Regions from separate parts of the Homo sapiens genome. Here region 1 is linked to region 2. The links are contacts of gene promoters, found by promoter capture Hi-C in blood cells and fetal thymus (Javierre and others, 2016). All regions are on one chromosome and are shown on one strand. Each heading gives the region's core, a stretch centred on a gene start or on the middle of the fragment in contact. The rest is flanking DNA. Distances are from core to core; before and after follow the strand shown.

What was found. Contacts are between HindIII fragments. The CHiCAGO score rates a contact against its expected background, and 5 or more counts as called.
Region 1: a contact is called between a fragment that was not itself captured here and the fragment with the promoter of OTUD4 in region 2, in 2 of 17 cell types (total CD8 T cells and naive CD8 T cells). The highest score is 6.6, in total CD8 T cells.

Annotation. Positions count from the first base shown.
Region 1 is chr4:146,187,829-146,190,528 of GRCh38, reverse strand. LSM6 (LSM6 homolog, U6 small nuclear RNA and mRNA degradation associated) reads right to left here. Exons shown (of 4, transcript NM_007080.3): 4 at 1-907. The coding sequence ends at 873. Among named protein-coding and RNA genes, the nearest start is that of LSM6, 13 kb to the right of the region's middle. The HindIII fragment of the contact is 5,853 bases long and covers 1-2,700 here.
Region 2 is chr4:145,179,167-145,181,866 of GRCh38, reverse strand. It overlaps OTUD4 (OTU deubiquitinase 4), which reads left to right and starts at 1,278. Exons shown (of 21, transcript NM_001366057.1): 1 at 1,278-2,052. The coding sequence starts at 1,894. RefSeq lists silencers at 872-1,271, 1,362-1,591, 1,712-2,171 and enhancers at 517-1,346, 1,347-2,176. The HindIII fragment of the contact is 3,984 bases long and covers 1-2,700 here.

The sequences.
Region 1 (2,700 bases), core at 179-2,678, 1.0 Mb before region 2:
AGAGTTAGGAAAAATTCTTTCCCAATCTCAGCTCGGCAATTAGAACCTGAATTATGTTTACAAACTCTAGGCTTTGCTTTAATCTGACTGTGAGAGATGTACAGGAATGGCCCCTCCCCTACTGTGTTCATAAACTGAGAGAATAACGTTGATGCCAATGCTCCTGAAAGGGAGCAGGGAAACCTAAAAAGTCTAATTGCATAAGGAGATGCAGGGGGACCACTGACAGGAGGGCTTTCTCCTCACTGAAATCTTGTTCATCTTTAGGATTTCTCCAGCACCTCAGTTCGAATTCCCACTCCTTATGTGCAAGTGGCACTCTTGGCTTTCCAATTCTGTTTTTTATTTAGGTGACTCAATCAGTGGCTGAACTTCTGATCCTGTGGCCCCTTTTTGTAGCTTCAGACTGAAACTGGATGCCTTTGTAGAACATATTCACGCAAGGATTCTGTATGAACAGAAAAGGATGCAATAAAGGAGGATTCCTCCAAAATGTTTTAATTATATGTCCATACAATATATAAAATATATGCATCATTTTAGCTGGATAAGAAAAGCAAGTCAAATGAAATGACACTTCTCGAAACTTAAGTTAAATAATCTTGTAGGAAGAGGTATATTTTGTCTTTTTTTAATTATTTTAGCATTCTGTACACTGACAACGAGGTAAAAGAAAATGACTGAAACTTACAAGTGAAAGAACATTTCACAATTAAATCCACAATTGTATACATTTATCTTACTCACATGTCAGTGAAAAATCACCAACTATTATAAAAAGAGGACAAATTGTATCACAAAAGAAGCAAAAATTAGAAAAAATTCATAAAAAAATATATCCAACTATGAAAAGCGTTGCTCTCTTGGTGTCTTCACATCCGTCTCTTCTGTGTACTGATGTACAACACTGAAAAGAAAAAAATACATAAATTGAAATTTAAAAAACCCTGCTTGTAAGTATACATAGTAGCAAGTTTAAAAGCCAACAGATTTTGGTCTGATACATCTGACATTTAAAAGGAATTCTCGTATCATTCAATTAACTCTAGAAGTACTGTAAGACTAGTTTTATGAATCTACACCCAGGTTTGATGTCTTACAAAACTGTCCTAATTTCATCCATGTGTCTCACTGACTCTTTAAAGTGTGACCAGGAAGATAAAATAAAATATATGTGAAAGTCCCTGGTATCTAAGAATGCTTTATAGTTAGAAGTATAAGAATTATGCTTTTCAGGGCTGAACACGGTGGCTCACGCCTGCAATCTTAGCACTTTGGGAGGCTGAAGCGGGTGGATCACTTGAGCTCAGAAGTTTGAGACCAGCCTGGGCAACATGGTGAAACCCCGTTTCTACCAAAAATACAAAAAATTAACCAGGCATGGTGGTATATGCACTTGTAGTCCCAGCGACTTAGAACGCTGAGGTGGGAGGACTGCTTGAGCTTGGGAGGCAGAGGCTGCAGTGAGCTGAGATTGCACAACTACACTCCAGCCTGGGCCACAGAGCGAGACTTCATCTCAGGAAAAAAAAAAAAAAAAAAAGATGCTTTTCAGAAAGTAAATCAGTAAATCTAACCAGGCTAGATCTCAAATTAAGAATAAACAACATATTTTCATCTGTCTCCCCAATACAAACTCTAAACTTGCTGTTTACCTTCTTAAATGCAACAGGATAAACAAGAGCTAAGGAGTTTATTTTTTATTTTTATTTTTTAATGATACCAAAGTCCTTATTCTGAGTTCCCGTTAAAAGTCTCATACTTTGGTGTTACCTAATGTTCTGCTTAGTGGTCTTCTCATGACTACCAACATGAACTCGTAGGATGTGTGGTCCGTAGGAATGAAACAAAATGAAATGCTTGGGTCACTTTGGCCAAACTAGAGGTGGTTCTCCCTTCCACCTTCCATGCCTACTCGGCTTCTGAGAGGTCTGCTCAAAGCGAACAGTAAGGTGTCTTCATCAAAGAACATAGCACAGATGAATCAAATAAGTCAAGATCCTCTTTAAGAGCCAATGATGTGAACTTGGGAGTCTAAAGATGAGTGTCACTGATTACATCATGGGAAATGTGACATGAAGGGAAGCATCAGAATGCCAGTACAGCCGCCCCCCAACCCTGCCCCCCAAGTCCTAGGGGTAGTGTGCACGTTAAAGGATCTACCCTATCAACACGCACAGAACCCAACCTGCCAGTGACTGCTGCCATTAGCTGTCTTGAGGTGAGACAAGATCATAACATTTCTTAGGAAAAAGAGGAGGTCAAATAAGGATATGAAAAATAGGATAAATAATTCTATAAATAGAAAGGACTAGAAAGCCAGGAAATAATGTATGTAAAAATATGATATGAAGAAATAAGGTCCTGTAAGCATAGGGGACAGACTCTTATTATAAAAGTCAGGAAGTTTAGTTTATAGCAAAGAGATCCAACTATTTAGGGGGTTGAAGACATCCAGAATTAAAGAAATCAACAAAAAATCTGAACTCAAGAATCCCAGAGTTTCTGGGAGATGGAACCAAAAAGTGGGGTAATTCTCATAATTCTGATATCTTTCCCTCCCCACCAAAAATACAAATATGACTTTATTATAATTTTCATTTTTAAACTAGGTACTTAAAAATAACTATAAAAATCATAGCAATTTATTAGTTGTTAAAAACTGAGTAACTTTTTCTATTTTGCCATTTTTGCCAAACT
Region 2 (2,700 bases), core at 29-2,528:
GTGAGCCACCACGCCCAGCTGAAACTATACTTTTCTAAACCTGATTTCAAAGTGTTTCTTCGCTACAACAAGTAAATTTGAGGCAGGGACATTTTTTCATTTAGGTAACGATAACGTTTGTATTCTCTAAAAGCAGCATAATTTGAGATACAATATTTAAACATTAAGAAATCAAAGACGCTCCAAGGAAAGTGAATACATGACTGATTGCTTGCACTGAAAATACTGAAAAGTGTCTAACGTAGTTTTTAAAAAATTTTTGTCGTTGGACTCTCACCACCTGGCCTGCCTTGCCCCCCATTCCAAGGTATTTGACTACATGTCTAAACCTATAGTAATGCTCCCTTTTCTTCTCCCTCTCCTCCACCATAGCCTAAAAGACTGAATTAGTTCCTATGATTAACCATGTATTTAAATAAGGACACCAGATGTTGTATCTTAGCAAAATAAAATTTTGGTGCAACAGAAGCATGCTGGATAAATTCTGGGTTCTAAAGCATAATTTAACTTTGTCAATTCCCTGCCATTCAACGTCGGAGGGTGGGAAGTTGAGCTGAAGCCTCGAGCACTGGTGGAAGCCATGGCCAGTCCAGTCAGCATGTTATCAAGCAATTTACAAGATGAATTTTTTAAGGGGGAAAAAAAAACCCTAACGTCTTCCGACAGTGACATGTCTCTGTGATGGGGTGCTCAGCTACAGTGACAGGGTGAACAAAAATGTCTTTGGCAAAGCCTTCATCTTGCCGTAGTACGTGAGCTGTACTACTAATAGCAATCAGCAGTCCACGGTTGATTTATGGACAGAGTGTGTCGTCCCGCACCGTGCCAGTTCCCGGAGCCTCAGCCAATTAGCTCTATTTTCTGCTTAAGCCGTTAAAGCCACCTCCATGGAAACACCAGGAGAGCAGGCCGGGGGGAAGGGAGCAGACAGGTGCGCCCTCTGGAAAGAAATACACAAAGGGCCGACACTGCGCCGCCGTGTCCCTGGCAACTCCACGCCAGCCCGGCGCGCGCGATTCCCGCGGCGCAGCGGCAGGGTTGGCGGGTGGCGCGCGCAGGTCGCCCCACATCGGCCGGCGGAGCCCCTCGGCCTGCTCGCGGACGCGGCGCCAGTGCAGCGCGAAGCCGGCTTGGGGCGGTGGCGGTGGCGGCGGCGCGCCCGCGCTGTAGGGACTTGTAGTCCGCGCGCCTCCCGGGCACCTCCCCCGGGTAGGCCGGCCAGCGCGTCCCCGCCCGCCGCAAGCCGACTTCCTGCGGCTGCCAAGACTACATCTCCCGCCGTCCTCTCCGCTGTCGGGCCGAAAGCGAAAACAAATTCTGGGCTGCGAGGTGCTGTTCTCTCCCGGGCGCCCCCACCCGCTCCCTGCCCCTCCGGCGCCCTCCAGCGAGGTGGGGAAACGAAAGGCCGCGTCTTTCTTTTTGGTTTCCTCGGCTCCCGGCGTGGGGAGTGCGCGGGGGCGCAGGCCCCGCTTCACCTGAGCCGGCCCAGCGTGCGCGCCAGGGGCGGGGGTTTTCTCGCTTCACACCGGTACGGAGGAGGAAACTTGTGGGGGCGGCGACCCCCGGCCTGGGTCCTGAGTCAGGCAGCGAGGCCGTCGGGAAGTGACTACTCACTCTCGGGGTTTTCCTTAATCCCGCTCCCCCCGTTTGTCGTGGGCGCGTGTTCGCTCCGAGGAGGCGGCCGCGTGCGGACAGCCATGCATTAGGCAGGGCTTCCCTATGCGCCCGGAGAGCGCGGACCGCTGCCTCGGGCCGCCGCCGCCTGCCGCCGCTCGCGGAGCCCGAGCCCCAGCCCGAGCCGCCGCCTGCCCCAGGCCGGGGCGTCGAGCAGCCGGCGGCCTGGCCATGTGGGGCTAGCCCTCGCCGCGCCTGGCCTGCAGCAGGACCAGCAACATGGAGGCTGCCGTCGGCGTCCCCGACGGCGGGGACCAGGGCGGCGCGGGGCCCCGCGAGGACGCGACGCCCATGGACGCCTATCTGCGGAAACTGGGCTTGTATCGGAAACTGGTCGCCAAGGACGGGTCGTGCCTGTTCCGGGCCGTGGCGGAGCAGGTAATTGCGGGGGGGCGGGGAGGGCTTCGAGGGGAGGCGGGGACGGCCCGGCGGGTCTGGGTGGGGAGGCAGCTGCGGGCTGTCCGGGCCGCCCACGGCCGGGGCTGCGCGTGCCCTGGCTGTCGTCACAGCGCCCCATTGTAACGCCGGAGTGGGACGCTGCTTTGCGTCTGAAAGGTGCAAATTGAAACTCGAAAGCCCGCAAATTAACGGGGTGTCTCTCTCCTGATGAAGAGGTAATGAGTTGAGGACAACTTGTGAGGCCTGCTCGGAGCTTGTACAGTTGATTTATTGCTGGGGACCTGGCGACATGATATTTTTTACTTTTGTTCCGCATTCACCTTCCTTCCCTTCGTTTGAGAAGCACCACGCTCACCCCACTCCAGTAAACCAAGTGTTTACTAGAAGTGGTGGATCAAACTTTACTTGTGGAACATATTTTGGTTTGCTGCTGGACTTTGGAATGTAGGGTAGGCAAGCTCGCCCATGTCACTTGAATCAAATGGGCAAACTGCCGTTTGAGAAAACCAGCCTTTTACAAATATAGAATATTTTGAAGGATTTGTCTTGAGTAGGTTCCACCCTTTATTATGCTCTGCTGGGCTGTGTAGGTATACTAAACAGAACTGACTTTTTTAAAAAAGCCTG